Regions from separate parts of the Homo sapiens genome. Here regions 1, 2, 4, 5 and 6 are each linked to region 3. Evidence: promoter capture Hi-C in 16 types of primary human blood cells and fetal thymus (Javierre and others, 2016). All regions are on one chromosome and are shown on one strand. The core of a region is centred on a gene start or on the middle of the fragment in contact, and the rest is flanking DNA. Distances in the headings are between cores, read along the strand shown.

Region 1 (2,700 bases), core at 68-2,567, 320 kb after region 3:
CACCTAAATTTGGTTCTTGATGCGTGTTCAAATTCTTTTCACACACACAAACACACCCACCTATTACAATGTCTACAAATAATCCCTCCTCTGCAGGCCTGGTTTGAAACTCTAATTGGGGTTAGTCAGCATTGGCAAAGTGGTTTGCGATTTTCCCAGAGGCAAAGTTGCAGGACGCTAAAGCATTTCACTAGCATTACCTTTAGTGTGCCTGTGCTCCTAAGTTCCTAGAGGCAGGAGAGAGATGTAGAAGCTACCTGTCAATCTAGTGGAGGTCAGGTCAGATCACGTGTTAGAAACCAACTCCTCAGCTTCAGAAACATGTCTGAGAGAGGAGCTTGCAGGTGCAAGCAGCACGCTCCAAGGGTCTGAAGTGTCAGTGGGCATGTTTTGCAAGATATTTATGACTGGTGAACGATAGCATGTATTGAGATTTGGGCCCAGTGGAGGTTGAGGCTGAGGCTAACGTCATAGCTAAGTATCTGTGCATGTGTGTGTGTTGGGTAATGGGTGGTACATGTGTGTTGCATGTGTGGGTGATGTATGTGTTTGGAGGGATGATGAAGCTATTATTCCAATAGCTGGGGGAAGGAATTATAAAACATGTATAAGGATTTGTTCAAAGGAAAGCATTTTGTAACATTCCCACTCTCAAGCTAGGAACAAAATGACTGGGTTAGGAGGGCAAGTGATGAGGAAATGAGGAGAGCAGAAAAAAGTTAACAACATGTTTCTGTCACAGAGGGCTGAGTTTTTCCCAAAGGCTCTGGATGTCTGGGGATGACAGTCTGACAGCTGAATTTGGGATGGGACAGGACAGAGTAAATAACTAAAGAAAGTTTTCTGGCTGTCTTGATCAGCCACCTGCTATTGCATCTAAGACACCCTTGGCACTCACATCCTGGGGAACCCTCCGTGTATCCTTCCCTTAACTTTAAAGCCTCCTTTGCAGGGTAACCATTCAAGTTACCCTAATCTGATCAGACAGAGAACACTGAGTCAGACAGTTTAATTGGACAGCCAGCTCCTTAACTAGATTGTAAATTACCTGAGGGTATAAACTGCATTTTACACCTCTTTTTTGTTGTCCATTCCAGTCACAGGCTTTCAATAAATGAATGTTCTGATTGATTTTTTTAAACGATACATAATAACAATTGTTATTATTATCTAGTGCTTATTTTGTGAGAGAAAGCATACTATATGAATTAATTTATTTCTCACACTAAGAAATGAGGTGGTGCATAGATTACCTGTGTTACAGAGAAGGACACTGAGGCACAGAGAGGTTAAGTAATTTGTCCAAAGTCACACTGCTTGTAAAGGGCAGAATCAGTATTTAAATCCAGATAGTCTGGCTGTTGTATTCATACTCTTAACCAATCCATGATCTTTCTGTTTATAGACATGTGTGATTCTGGAATTCCTTGTGGCTTTTGTGATTTGCAGGAGGAGAGATGGCTAGAGAAATGATGAGCCTTTTTAAGAGTGAAACCTACTAATGGAACCACCACAGTCATAGTGTCTTTTTATTTTTCACCATGGCCACTCAGAGGGGGGAAAAAGCAAAACAAAACAAAAATAAACGATTCTCATTTAAGAGACAGTTTTGGTCTTGTATGATTTTTTTTTTTTCATGATTGAGTCAGCCTTGGTAGATTCAGCTTGGTCCTTGGTTTCCCACAACCTCAAATCCTGTAGGAAAATGGATTTGTTTTAGGGCCAACTCACGGTTCATACTATCCTCAAAGTAGAGCCAACCAAAACTTCTTGTTACACAATTTATTTTGTGCTCTTTTGGGGTGGTCTCCAAATCTCTTTTAGATATGCCAAATCTGGTTCAACTTTCAGAAGCAAGATCTGAGTAATGACTCCATCCTGCTCCACTAAGGGATTTTGTCTCCATGTCACACATGTGGGAAGAGGGTGTGCGGCCACAGGAGGAAGACCTATAGAAATCACTAAGTACTCAAGGGCAAAACTGCTAGGAAAAGGATAGGATTCCAGAAAGGTAGAAAAGAAAAGAAGGGAATGATCACTAGCAACATGAGATCAGAGAATCATCTGGGAATCGGAGAGCAGTGAGGAGCACCTGTGGAAGGGTTGACCCTGCCAAGGGAAGGCTGGAGACCAGGTCAGGTCAGTGGAAAGAAAGCAAAGAGGGGAACAAGAAATGAGATCTGGGAGAGGCAGCAGCCAGGCAGCAAAGATGAAAAGCTCTAATTTGACAAGGGAAGAAGGAAGGCAGGAGGGATGTTGGGTGAAAGAATCGCTCCTAGAAAAGAAGTTACACCAGGGCTCTGCTTCTGACTCTTGCGACCATTTTCAGCCTCAAAATTTTCATTTCTAATGGGGCTTAGTGATGAGCCTTATCAAGCCTAATCTTCAGGAATATTATGCGCAATAACAAGAAATGGATTGGAAAATCTTCATATGGTTTCATGTGGCTATTTGTGAAAGCTGAACTTAACCAATCTATTCAGCTCTGATCACAATGAAAAACAGCGGTGGCTGCAAACCATGTTTCCAGCATTCTTACTCCATACTTTCCATACTTTCAATTATTCACTCAACTGTCACCAATGACTGCGCTGCTACCTTCTACTGCGATTCAGGATTATAAAGGAAAATAAGATATTTTCTGTCAGCAAGTTGTTCACATGGGAAAAACATACACTTAAAAATAACAATGTGTTGAGA
Region 2 (2,700 bases), core at 71-2,570, 450 kb after region 3:
CACTATCGTCTCTGCCTTCTCCAATTCATTCTCTACACTTGAACCACAAAGATGCATTTTTGAAATGCAAAACAAAAAAAATCAAACAAAACAACCACCTTTTAATTAGTTCCCACAGCTCTTAGGATAAAGACAAAACTCCTTAAATGGACTAATCAATCTTTCTAACCTTATCGTCAACTGCCTCACCTGTAATCCCTCTGCTCCAGCCATAATACCTTTTAAAATCTCCCCTGCCTACCCAGTTGTTATAACTTCCTTCCCCCATAGAACCTTTGCATGTCCTGTTCTTTGTAAAGCTCTGTGTTCACTTGGTTAACTCCAGTTGAAGCAGCGCTTCCAAAGGAAAGGAAAGGAGAGGGGAGGGGAGGGGAAGAGAGGGGAGGGGAGAAGAGAGGGAAATGAAAATAAGGGGGAAGGGAAAGGAAAGGACAAAGTAAAGAAAGTCTTTTCTGATTTTCCTATTATACCCTCTCATACACTACTTCCTCACTTCTGAAGCACTTCTCACTGTTGCAATTTGATATTTGTTTGCTTATTTGATGAATGTCAACTTCTTCCTATTGAACTTTGTGATTCATGAAGACACAGTCATGCATATATGCCTACTCTGTGCCTAGTGCCCAGTGTCTAGCACTGTAAGCACTCAAAAACACTTGTTGGATAAAGACTAAATACAGGAATTTAAGAAGAGCCAGCATTCAGGCTCAATACAAACTAGACAGGATAACAACATGTTTTAGACCAAGCTTATCAACATTGTAGTATCAAAATTTTATTGCTACTATTACTACTACTTCCAGGACCATGACTTCTCCAACCGCATTCACTGCTACTACTGCTTCCAATAACATTAACAGCCCACCAAGGCATTTACTGTGAACTAGTAAATTAAAGCCATGTTATACTCTTATAACTGATCTTAATAACTACAAATTTTAAAATGCACCAAAATCTTACAATCTGAAGCATTATGGGATCCAGTAGCATTCAAATGAATGAAATCTAGATTATGACAATCCAAGGCTTAACTCAGAGAACTGCATTTCTTGGAGTGACTGAAAATCTCCTAACCTAGGAGGAAACTCTGTCAAGTGAAAGCGAAAAAGAGGCAAACCTCACACTGTTTATTATATTTCCACTCTTGTCCACAATCTCAGAGCACTAAGACACACACAGAGACAAAATATTGTGAAAAGAGAACAGAATCCTTTCACAGCTAGGCCCTTGGGGAACATGGGAACAGGATTTAGACACACACTGTGTTGTGAGCAGACAAGAGAGAATGACTCAAACAGCAACAGAAAAGAAACAGGAAGAGATGATCAACTCAAACACTTCAAGTCCCTCAGCATTTTCAAATTAGGTTCTTATGCACCACTTCAATTTGCATTTGTTTATGTACTATATAAGTGTTTGCACTTCAGGTGTGTTTTGCTTACCCAACTAGCTTGTAAACTTAAAGATTGCACAGGGGCATAAGAAGAAAACTGTACAAGTGAGAGGAGAAGAAGCAAGAGAAGATCAAAACAGTAAAGGGTAGAAAGAAAATATGCTATTGGTTGTGAACTTGACAGAGCTCTCAGATGGCAACTGCCTCCCTTTAGTCAGCTGCCTACTCTGTAGCTCCGTACCAGGCTTACATTTGTGGTCACTCTGTGGTGAAGGATGTTTCCCCCTTCTGTTTTGCTCTTTTCTATTTTACTCCCTTTGTACCCAAAATCACAATACCAGAACCATTTCTCTAACACTGAGGCCATTGCTTTTCATCTGATCCAGATGACAGCAGCAAAGTTACATTCAGAAGACCGGAAATTTTCCAACCGCAAAAAGTATAGATACGGTTTCTGCCTCTCCAGTGACCTGCAGTTTTTAGTAGCTACAAGCTTAACTCCCTTGGTTCTCTTTATTTTAAGAAATACATTTCTTTAAAGGCAACATCATCCTCCTTTCTGGATAATATACTATCTGTTCTCCATTGCTGTCTTCATTTTGTGGCATCACTTATTCTATTTCCTATAAGGTACATCAGTCCATGTTGCCAAGTCTCAATGAAGGAAACACTGAGTCCTCCGTGAGGCAATAGTATTGTTTACTGGTTCAGGCAGAATGTACAAAAAAAACTATGTATGAAACCAAGGTCAATGTGTACTTGTACTAACATTACATGGCAAATGTCTTACTGGGTTCCAAATGAGGTCAATATATAAAAAGAAGGAGCAGGGCTCATATTTAATTGGAACTGAGAAATAGAATTTGCTCAATATAATTATTACTATTCTTAATTGAAAACTACCATTTACCAAACTCTTATCCTTTAGCAGGAACTATATGTTTAAGTGCATTACACAGATTATCTCATTTAATCACCAAGCTAGTGATACCTGTAAAGAAAGCACTATAATTATCCATATTTGTTATGTAAGAAACTTGAAACAACTTGGGAATGATGAAACGTATGGTAAATGATAGAGCCAATATCCAAATACAGGCTACCTGAATCAAACTATGTATAGCTAAACAGTTTTCTATATAGGTCTTCCATTTCTCTTTACTTCAATCCCACTCCACTCCATCCTTAATTGAACTGAAGTGTGTGTGTGTGTGTGTGTGTGTGTGTATGTGTCTGTGTGTGTGTGTGTGTGGTGTGTTTTCCTCCTGGAAAACAGCAAGGGAATTGGGCATTATAAGATAGTAGTT
Region 3 (2,700 bases), core at 1-2,500:
GTTTGAATCACAGAGCCTGCGGCCCTCAAACCCTCAAACACACACGAGCATTTGGTCAGAAATGCAGTTAACAAATAAGGACTCCTTTCAGTTTCATGAGAACGCATCCACTCAATAAACAGACACTGAACACTTCCAGGGTGCATGGCTCCCACAAGAATGTGAAGGTGGCTAGTCCCCCTCCTCCCTTCTTTGTTTTACTGTGTAACCAACACGATCCCCTAGGGAAAGAAATGGCCCCAGAAGAGCTGATGCACCAGGAAGGCTGGGGAAATTACAAGGACATACTTATCTCTATTCTCATTAGAAAAATCAAAAGGGCTTCGAATTTGCCAACTCAGAAGGGAGATGTAATGCTAGGGTGAGTGGAGAACCCCCAAGCTAGCTAGGGAATAGTGCATGGAGCCCAAATCTTCCAACCCTGAAGAAATAAAGGCATTCTCATCCCCTCCCGGTGAGACATAGAGCTTGGCAACAGCAGCTCTTCCCGCAGCCTTACGTTAAAAGAAAGGGCCCTGGAGGGTTTCCCTGCCCACCGCCCCAGCAACCGAGATCGCTGCCGGCCTTACCGTCCCGTCCATTAACCATTTCTGAAAATGGGCCCTGCCGGGGGGCGGGTGCTCTATGTCCTCGGCGCACTGCAGGATGATCCAGTCCACCAGCTTGTTCTCCAGGTCCGCATCATACTTCTGCTCGATCTTCTCCTGCACCTCTCGGCTTAAGCCATAGCTCGGGCCCCTGTTAGCCATCTCTGGAAAGAAGAGAAGACACGCGCGGCATCCACACAATAGCAGCAGCAGCAGCCTCCGGCTCCCTGCAGACGGGGCTGGGATATGGCTGGGCAACCTGGCCCAGCAGCAGCAAAGAGGGCAGAAAGCCGGGCGTGGTTTAAATCAAGGAGCCAATGAAGCCAATGGGGTTTCACCTACAAACGGGAAAGAAAAGCACAGCTACCCGCCAGTAACTCTAGAATAAACCTCCGGCCGGTCCAGGGGGGCTGGAATCCCCCTCCCTATCCCGCCTATCAATGAGACCAGATGATATAACACGGACTCACAATCAAGTCTGAACCCCCAGGCAGCAAGGGGGATGGGTGGCGGACGTTTCTTCCCCCTTCTCAGTAGCACTTTGCAAAGGCAGAAACGATGAGATCGGGAAGAGCAGGTAATTAGCAGGCAGGGAGGAAGCCTCCTTTCATGTTGAACTGCAGCCGCTGCTGCCTCGCGCCTGGAAGAATGGCACATTGATTTGATTTTCTCATGGCTGAGGGGGCTCAACCAGGGCCGTTGCTAAGAGCCCTCCAAAAAGCCAGCCCTCTCCTGTGTCAATCAAGCCCGCCTGCCTCCCTCCCGCTGAGAGCCTCTTTCTCATCTGCACAATTCTTTCCCTCTTCTGGGGAGACAGCCGATTGTCTACGAGGCCAGCAGCTGCACAAGGGGATGAGGGCCTGTGGGAGGGTCCGTTCTACCAACTGTCCATCTGTCGGGAATAGCCAAGCTACTTTCCCCCTGCCCTGAGGTAACAACTGTCTGGCAGGACAGGAGGGGAGGGACTGAGAGCTGCTATCATTTACTTGTTCAGCTGCCAGCCCAACTTCACCCAGAAACTTCCATCCTGAAACTGTTGTGCCTCAGTTTGACTTATTCAAGGGAGGTATTTTTTTCATGCTACTCTTAACTGAAAGACACTAAGAACAAGTTTTATAAATTATTATTATAATTCTTACTATATATTTTTAGACAGAGTCTCGCTCTGTTGCCCAGGCTGGAGTGCAGTGGCACAATCTCGGCTGGCTGCAACCTCTGCCTCCTGGGTTCAAGCGATTCTCCTGCCTCAGCCTCCCAGGTAGCTAGGATTACAGGTGTGTGCCACCAGGCCTGGCTAATTTTTGTATTTTTAGTGGAGATGGGGTTTTGCCACGTTGGTCAGGCTGGTCTTGAACTCCTGACCTCAGGTGATCTGACTGCCTCGGCCTCCCAAAGTTCTGGGATTACAGGCATGAGCCACCACGCCCGGCAAGTTTTATAAATTAAACAAAACTCAACGACTAAGAACTCTTAGAGTGAAAGGTTTTGATAGAATGTAAAGACTTCATCTGAAGTAAGGACCGTGAAGGCACAACCGACATATTGTCAGAAGTAACTGAATATTTCTCATGGGCAAACAAGCACTCAGGAGAAACCATTAGCTCTAAGTTGGCCCCACATTTTTATAACAGCTAAAGGGCTTGGCAGTTTGTCCTCCTAGACTGTAAGCCATTTGTGGGTAAAGATTGAGTCTCATTGGTGTTGTGTAATTCTCTGGGTGTTTTTCATGAGAAAAATTCCACATTTTTTTTCGTTTGGTTCATTTCTTCATTCAACAGATATTTACTGAGTGTTTATGCCAACTACTGGACTGAGGAGGAATAAAATACAATTCTTGCATTGAAAACAGATTGATAAATTGACTCAAGCATATTAAATAAAGCAATTCTGGGTACATGGGATGATGATCTTTGTCCCTGTGGGAAATTGATTAGAAGCTATGCAGGAAATGACTCCTCAAATAATACATGTATTGAGAAAAATCTCCTACCGGCTGATGCCTGGACTAATGAAAATTTAATTACTTAGGAGATATGTGGGTGGTTTGCCTGAAAAAGACTTAGCGGTCAGTCGTTGAAGGCCTGGCAGACAGTCCTCTGAAAACAGAAAACTA
Region 4 (2,700 bases), core at 76-2,575, 300 kb after region 3:
CATTTCATTACAGTACAATGGCATTTCAGATTACATGATGACCACACTTGTAGCCATGGAGGGAAGATTGAGACAAGAGTTAAGTGAAGCTTATAAGAAGATAGAGAGAAACTCCCCATCTGGGTAGGTGAGGATGGTGACCCTAAGTCAAAGAACTCCTGACTTCACATATTTAAGAAAACCTCCTGTCTTCACCTCCCTTAGGTCCTCCTGTCTCTAAGTCCTTCTAACTTTGAAGCCCATTAGTTCCTGCAGGTGCTTCACTGATCCCACTCTCCCCACCCCATGTGTATTGACACCATTCAGTGTATCTGTGCCTTTAGGCACTGACATTGCAAAAATTTGTTCTTAGGGAGTGAAAAATCTTATTCTTCTATGTACAAAGTACAGATACATCTGAGTGTTATAATTTCACAGGGGAGGAGGGGGGGAAATAAGGAATAGAAATGCCTAATAAGACTCCTTCAGGGAGTGATTATGAACAAAAGGCTGAGACAGACCACCACCCTAGACTGAGGTTCCTGGCTTGTCTGGGCTGAACCTCTGACACTGTCTCTTTTTATCCTTAATTGGCCTGCCTCTCAATGCCTCCAGCAATGTTTCCCTCCCATCCATAAGGTGACCCAGTACTGGAAGGTTCTATTCCCATCCCCTGTCTCTAGAACACTAATGGGTTGGGAACCACTGAATTTCTTCTTTTCCAGTAATCTTTTTAAGTATTCTCACTTGCAATTTCCAGGACTACCAACAAATCATTTTTCTGTCTACACAGTCCCAAAGGACTCAGACTTGCACTTTGTAAGATACTAGTTAAGAAAGAACTTCACAAATGGTGAGTCCTAACACCTAACTTAGTGAATTACCATAGCTCTGAATAAGCTAAATGGAGTGTCCCCGCAGTGGATAGGGGCACAGAGTCTGTTGTCAGGCTGCCTGAGTTCATAATCCTGGCTCTACTGCCTACTAGTTATGTGAATAAAATGCTGGGCCTCAGTTTCCTCATCTGCACAATGTGGACAACAGCAGTACTAACTTCATTGGTCTGTTGTGAAGACTAAATGAGTTAACTCAGGCAAACACCCAGAAGAGTCCTTGGCTAATAGAATGAGCTCAAACATGTTATTATTATTAATTATTAAGAAATTTGTGTCATCTTTTATTTGGATGATACTATCTGAGAAACAAATAATTCTGGTTTTTAAATAAAGCCATGAAACCTCAGTAAATATTTATATTTGAGGATCTGTCATGGCAATTAACATTTAGGGCTAGGAAAAATGAAGTCTGTAGTTTAAGTCATTTATTTTAGGTTACACCCAAAATCAACATCAAAAGGAGTAAGTTTGGATCATAGTATTCTACAGTTGAAATTCAAATTGGCACTAAAACTAAAATTATAAATTATTAATATCTCTAGTCTGCTCCTATGTCAGTACTTGGAAATAAATACAGTGACTACACAATTTGCAAGTATAAGACAGAAAATTCTGAGGATGTTCTTAAACTTTTTATTTTTAACAACATAAAATTAGATGTCATCAAGTGATTTTTATGGAAAAACAAATCCAACCTGTTGCCAAAAAGATGTTGAATGACAGATTTTTTGAGAGTAGAAGCCTATATAATCCATTATTTGAAATGGAAAAAACAGTAATGTCTTCCCAACCCATCAAAAAAACCCTATCAGTTTTCTCAAATACCAAATATCATTAAAACACTCAAACACCAATGTAATCATCCACAGATAATCTTTCCCTAATATAAACAGCAGAACCAGTAATATTTTCAGAAGTTTTTCTGTATTTTTTTCTACAAATTAAAAATATTAATGCATAGTTCTTAGAGATGTAAGTATGGCCAAGTTTATGTTAGTTCATCTCTCTCAATATGCTTTATCACCCAATTTTTCTTTTTAGGCCTCTCGAGTGTGCTTGTTTTATTCAGAGGCTTTTTGCTTTCTTAGAAGACATTCTCACTCAATAATGTGGTAAGTTGAGAGCGCTAATGCACAGCTCGAGCCTGCTGGGAGGGTAGCTGAACTATGGATGTAACACATTCTCCATCTTTTTGACAAGGTGTACCTGCAACTTAAATGTTTTTGCTAGCTCACACGATGGGATTTTTTTATTTAAGTAGTGAATTCTGGATAAAATAAATCTTATAAGTTATAGCAAATGTTTGGATAGCAAGAGTTTGGATGGAATATCTACAGACGTGTTTGGAGCTAAGGTCTTCTCGGTTACCAAAGTATTTATGTGCATGTCTATGTGTACATGTTGGCACTAAAACTGGCCCATCTTAAATGAAATCCAGAAAATTCTCTTATTCAGTGGAAAAAAAGCCCACCTTTCATTTATTTGGAAATATGTTTACTAATATCAATAGAAAACTTCTAATAGATAATAATTATTCTCTAAAAATTCTTTTAAAGACAAATATTATTTTGAGCTCATTTTTGAGAGTCATCTAAATGCCATGTAAGCTCCAAATTTTTATCAAGACCTAAATCATATTATTTCTATCAAAACTAAGATCATCTGGTCGGTCCATCGTAAGCTTGGGCTAAAAACATATATTGGATATGCATGTATTTTCTATAACGAATAGTCAGAGTGTTCAATTAAAGCTTGTCTATTTTATCTCAGTCTGAATTTTAGGTCACATGTCTGTAATTTGCATATTCTTTCTCTATTAGCCTAT
Region 5 (2,700 bases), core at 15-2,514, 420 kb after region 3:
AAGGAGCCTAATGTTAATCTACAAGACCATGGGGAAAATGTCCCCAGGCCACATCAGAGACCTTCACAGCAGCCCCTCCCATCACAGGTCCAGAGGCCCAGGAGGAAAAAGTGGTTTCCTGGGCTGGGCCCAGGGTCCCCTTGCTGTGTGCAGCCTCGGGACTTGGTGCCCTGTGTCCCAGCCATTCCAGCTATGGCTGAAAGGGGCCAACGTGCAGCTTGGGCCATTGCTTCTAAAAGTGTGGAATCCCCAAGCCTTGGCAGCTTCCACATGGTGTTGAGCCTGTGCGTGCAGAGAAGTCAAGAACTGAGGTTTGGGAACATCTACCTAGATTTCAGAAGATTTATGGAAATGTCTGAATACCCAGCAAAAGTTTGCTGCAAGGGCGGGGCCCTCATGAAGAACCTCTGCTTGGGCAGTGCAGAAGGGAAATGTGGGGTTGGAGCCCCCACACAGAGTCCCTAATGGGGCACTGACTAGTGGAGCTGTGAGAAGAGGGCCACCATCCTCCAGACCCCAGAATGGTAGATCCACCAACAGATTGCACTGTGCTCCTGAAAAAGCTGCAGACACTCAACACTAGCCTGTGAAAGCAGCCAGGAGGGAGGCTGTACCCTGTAAAGCCACAGGGACAGAACTGCCTAAGAACATGGGAACCTACCTCTTGCATCTGTGTGACCCAGATGCAAGACATAGAGTCAAAGGAGATCATTTTGGAACTTTAAGATTTGACTGCCCTTTTGGATTTTGGACTTGCATGGGGCCTGCAGCCCCTTTGTTTTGGCCAATTTCTCCCATTTAGAATGGTTGTATTTACTGAATGCTTATACCCCCATTATATCTAGAAAGTAACTAACTTGCGTTTGATTTTACAGGCTCATAGGCAGAAGGGACTTGCCTTGTCTCAGATGGGACTTTGGACTTGGACTTTTGGGTTAATGCTGAAATGGGTTGAGAATATGGGGGACTGTTGGGAAGGCATGATTGATTTTGAAATGTGAGGACATGAGATTTGGGACAGGCCATGGGTGAAATTATATGGTTTGGCTGTGTCCCCACCCAAATCTCAACTTGAATTGTGTCTCCCAGAAGGGACCTGGTGGGAGGCAATTGAATCATGAGGGCTGGTCTTTACCATGCTATAGTGAATAAGTCTCATGAGATCTAATGGGTTTATCAGGCATTTATGCTTTTGATTTTCCTCATTTTTCTGTTGCTGCTGCCATGTAAGAAGTGCCTTTCACCTCCTGCCATGATTCTGAGGCCTCCCCAGCCATGTGGAACTTTAAGTCCAACTAAATCTCTTTTTCTTCCCAGTTTTGGGTATGTCTTTATCAGCAGCATGAAAATGAACTAATGCAGCTTAGAAATAAAGTCTCATTATAAAGGTCCCTGAAGTGGAGCAGAGAAACATTTGATTCTTGTTTGGTTGCTTGGCACTAGGAAATATCAGGGAATATTTCAGTGATTTTGTTGTTTTACTAGATTTTAAGTGCCTCTGAGCCAGTATTTTATCAATTTCTTCATCTCTAGCACTTAACTGCCCAGCACAAACTAGACATTAAGTACATCGTGTTGAACAGAAGTGGCTTCAAGTAAATTCTTGAGCATAGCAAACACAGCCTTCTATGACTCAGTGGAAAGAATGCTAAACCTCCAGTCACAGATGCTGTCAGTGCCTGCTACAGCCACTAGCCATTTACCTTGGCATACTGAAGATCTCTTACTGGGATAACTCTTTGATGACTAGATGACTCTTTGCATAATGATTTATTGAGATTATGGGAGTATACTTAGTCCACAAGTAGTAAAAACTGGGAGTCCCAGAGAGTTAATAGTGATACAGATGGAGAGATGGTAGATGAATACCCCAGCTTTCTTGCCCTTCATGTGGGATAACTCTGATGTGTGTTCTATGCTGTCTCCCAGTAAGATGAGCTCTAAACCTATGGTGCTAACTGATATAATCTTGTACATTTTCTTATCTTCCTTCCCTTCCCTGACTCACTTTCTCACTCCTTTTCTGATGTTTCCCAGGATGGCCTTTCAAATAAATTAACCGCAATCCTTATCTCGATGTTTTATTTCAGGGGAACCCAAAACCAAGATACAACCTGAAACACTAATGGATGGAGAGGTATCTCTTACCTCCTGTTAACAAATACCAGCAGAATAAAAGCCCTGAAAGAAAGAACAACTACTAAAAATTGCAGAGGTGACAGGGTGAGACAGATTTTCTTTGAGGTTGAGGACAATCAGATTTGGAATTTAGGAGTGGAACAGAACCCTGTGATGGGCAGGTGACTCCCTGCCAAGGAAAGGAAAACCAAAGGAGACCAGTGAAGGAGATGCAGGAAGTGGCAAAATTGCTGGAGTAGCCCCTCTTGTCCCTGGTCTGTTAGACAATGAAGAGTTGAGCAATGGACATTGTTTGGGAAGAAGAAATATGCTGGGTTTAGGGCATGTGGAATAGATCTGATATATATTTGGGTATTGATTTCAAGGTTTTCATGGGTGTTTTGGGGAGACTTATTCTATATGAGGAATCACCAAGGGATGTAAAGTAGGTTCTTATAAGATATGTGGTCAGGGCCACAATATATACTTGGGTAACACCTCAAAATAGGTTAAGGACTGGATGAGACTCCACCCAAACACAACCCGCCCAGCCAATTTACTAAATGCAAAAACCAGGAAGCA
Region 6 (2,700 bases), core at 76-2,575, 270 kb after region 3:
AGAACTGAGTAGAATCCTGGCTCAGACTAATTGCATGATTTTGGGCAAATTAATTAACTTCTATATTCTAACTACCTAACGTTGAAAAACAATGACAATGCCTATTCTAATCTAGTCAATCTGAAGAATAGTCTCCCTCTACTTACTATCCAATATTCAGGAAATGGAAAGAAAAAGCTGTACATACCCTTAGGGGCTTCCAGTTTGTTTTAGGCCCTGAGCCAGAAGCTACAAAAAAAGGACAGGTCAGACCTGTGTGTCTGTCCCTAAGGCAGCCTTCAGTAATGTGGGGAAATATGGCCAATGCATAAATTTTTAAAAAAAATTTTTTGTAGAGACAGAGGCTCACTTTGTTGCTCAGGCTGGTCTTGAACTCCTGGCTTCAAGCAATCCTCTGCCTCACCTTCCAAAGTGCTAGGATTACAGGCATGGGTTGCCATGCCCGACCTAGCCAATGCATTTGATCACCCCAAGATCCTTTTCCCTCGTCAAAACCACCTCCATCACTTGCATTATCTATGAACATCCTCTGGATACCAGCCAGATTCACACTTAACATTTTGCAGTGCTTAATATCTTCACAGAAACGTATCAGTTTTCCATAATTCTCCACAACATTCTTGAGAGGTAGCCACAGACTTACCCAAAGTCACACAAGGGTTTATGTCTACAATGGCCTCCACTCTTGCATCTAGTTAACTGCCTCAGACACTAAATATTCAGCCACAAACCCTGCCTGAGGGGAGTCACTTCAGTTCCACAACTGATTGACAAAAATAATGTCAAACATTACCTTGTCCTACATGACCCAACTCCTTCCCTAAAGGGAGTTCAGAAAAATAGGACTTCAGCATTACTAGGCTTCTAACTAATGACTATAGGAGCCAGGAACCACTGCACAGGCCCGAAAGTTGTATGTGGTGACCATATGACAACATTTCTGCAATTAGAGGAGTTATATTCAGACTTAAGGAAGAGTGAATCATATTAGATAAAAATTACATATTTCTAGAGTGTGTAGACTTGAAGGGGAAAATTTCCATGTTTTCCTTGGTGATTACTTTATAACTTTATTCTTCCTCAAGAATCACTCAATAACTTGTTTCATAGTTATCATCTCCTTCTTCCCCATAGACCTCCAGTGATGAGGGAAGCTCCCTCCAAAGCCACAAGCTTTGTACATAGAGTGGCATTGGTATCATCAGGTTTGCATATTAGTTTTGCTCATGTTTGTTTATCATTGAGCTGGGGAAGGGGGGTCTTGGGATATTTACTATTCTCGGAAGGAGAAAAACTTACTTCTGGTGAGAAGAGAATCTGGACTATAGCTTCAGAGGAGCATTTCTTCTGTGTTGCCCATGCCTTTGCTACAGAGGGACTCAGGCCAGCAAAGGCTTTGGTGGTCCTCCTGATTCAGGGTAAGAAACGGCCTAGTCTCAGTAAATGATTGACCTGGCTGCCGATGTGATAAGCTTAGGTAAATAGGCTTGATTCTGCTCCAGTAATTTCAGGACTTTTAACTCTCTAGGTTCCAAAGCAGAAAAATATACGTGACTTCCTGGGAGAGCCTATCATACGAGGTTGACAGCCCTGTGAATGGACAGTATATTTCTCGGAATATATTATTCTATACCATATACTACAGTATATGTACACTGTCCTCTCTGGTATGTCTTGAAAATTGAAAAAAATTATGCAACGAAAATTCTGGAACAAAACCATGCTTGTGGAGTTACCACCAATGAAATCATTTTAATAAATCGCACATATAATTTGTTATAATGAAAAATTTTTAAAAAACCTTCCAAGTTTCTGAAATACGTACAGGAGCAACAACAATTTTCAGAAGAGATAGAAGACAGAAGGAAAATACAGCCTGCTTTCCAGAACAGGCTGATAGAAAAATGACTGAATTCAGACACACACCCGGGTCTACCATATCTCCAGCAGACCCTCCTCAGAAACACTCTGGTGACGAGGCTGTATATGCTGCTCATTTTGTTATTACAAGAGAAGGGCCAGTGACCAGAGAGATCACCTACCTTGTCTGCTGCTTTTCAATCCCGACTCTTCCCTCAGCTTCTTTCCTGACTCAGCAGGGATGGCCCATGGCTGTTCCAGCGATTGCTGAAGAGAGTGGGATGTTGGGAAGACACATTAACACAGGTTTCTCCTTTTCCCCAAGCATGAAGGTGAGGTTCCTTTCCATTTCCTTTCCTGCTCTCTCTGGCCTCTGCAGACTGTGGTCACAGGCAGCAACTTGCTTGCAGCCAGGTATATTGACAGATGTGAAGGAGGGAGTCTGCCCTGGCCTCAGCCGCCTGGTCTAGCCAATCATTACACACCAGGACAGACTGCTAGTCCTGCTTAAATCCAACCAGAGCTGCATGGAAAAATCAGATGGCAGGACTGTGGGGGGCAGAAAGCACAGTCTGATAGCCATTGGCTATCCAGAAAAGTGATTCCCTTGTAACTGCATCTGGGAAGTGGACAAGAGGCCCCGAGAATAGTTTATAGAGGAAACGAAATTTTTATTCCTTTAGATTTCAGCAATCTCAGAGGGAAATCTGGAAGTCACTTTATCAAATGTCCTATTTAATAGTGGAGTTTCTTCTATTAAATTCTTGTATGGTGAGAAGCATCTGGTAGTTTTTTAAATAAATATGGCTACCATTCATTGAGAGAGTATTATATGTTATG

What was found. Contacts are between HindIII fragments. The CHiCAGO score rates a contact against its expected background, and 5 or more counts as called.
Region 1: a fragment that was not itself captured here is called in contact with the fragment with the promoter of TAGLN3 in region 3 in 5 of 17 cell types (M1 macrophages, total B cells, fetal thymus and 2 more); the score reaches 7.8 in M1 macrophages.
Region 2: a contact is called between a fragment that was not itself captured here and the fragment with the promoter of TAGLN3 in region 3, in 1 of 17 cell types (activated CD4 T cells). The highest score is 6.5, in activated CD4 T cells.
Region 4: a fragment that was not itself captured here is called in contact with the fragment with the promoter of TAGLN3 in region 3 in 7 of 17 cell types (endothelial precursors, erythroblasts, activated CD4 T cells and 4 more); the score reaches 8.1 in endothelial precursors.
Region 5: a contact is called between a fragment that was not itself captured here and the fragment with the promoter of TAGLN3 in region 3, in 1 of 17 cell types (activated CD4 T cells). The highest score is 5.4, in activated CD4 T cells.
Region 6: a fragment that was not itself captured here is called in contact with the fragment with the promoter of TAGLN3 in region 3 in 1 of 17 cell types (naive CD4 T cells); the score reaches 5.0 in naive CD4 T cells.

The regions. Positions count from the first base shown.
Region 1 is chr3:111,679,394-111,682,093 of GRCh38, reverse strand. All of the region lies in intron 1 of PLCXD2 (phosphatidylinositol specific phospholipase C X domain containing 2), which reads right to left. Among named protein-coding and RNA genes, the nearest start is that of PLCXD2-AS1, 3.3 kb to the right of the region's middle. The HindIII fragment of the contact is 4,779 bases long and covers 1-2,700 here.
Region 2 is chr3:111,546,840-111,549,539 of GRCh38, reverse strand. All of the region lies in intron 2 of CD96 (CD96 molecule), which reads right to left. Among named protein-coding and RNA genes, the nearest start is that of CD96, 6.0 kb to the right of the region's middle. The HindIII fragment of the contact is 1,137 bases long and covers 752-1,888 here.
Region 3 is chr3:111,997,472-112,000,171 of GRCh38, reverse strand. TAGLN3 (transgelin 3) reads right to left here and starts at 1,250. Exons shown (of 5, transcript NM_001008272.2): 1 at 1,058-1,250; 2 at 570-751. The coding sequence starts at 749. The HindIII fragment of the contact is 5,204 bases long and covers 1-2,700 here.
Region 4 is chr3:111,696,593-111,699,292 of GRCh38, reverse strand. The region is part of intron 1 of PLCXD2 (phosphatidylinositol specific phospholipase C X domain containing 2); the gene reads right to left. Among named protein-coding and RNA genes, the nearest start is that of PLCXD2-AS1, 21 kb to the right of the region's middle. The HindIII fragment of the contact is 2,467 bases long and covers 92-2,558 here.
Region 5 is chr3:111,581,226-111,583,925 of GRCh38, reverse strand. The region is part of intron 4 of CD96 (CD96 molecule); the gene reads right to left. Among named protein-coding and RNA genes, the nearest start is that of ZBED2, 13 kb to the left of the region's middle. The HindIII fragment of the contact is 7,112 bases long and covers 1-2,700 here.
Region 6 is chr3:111,732,046-111,734,745 of GRCh38, reverse strand. It overlaps a transcript of PHLDB2 not described here. Among named protein-coding and RNA genes, the nearest start is that of PLCXD2-AS1, 56 kb to the right of the region's middle. RefSeq lists an enhancer at 1-117. The HindIII fragment of the contact is 299 bases long and covers 1,176-1,474 here.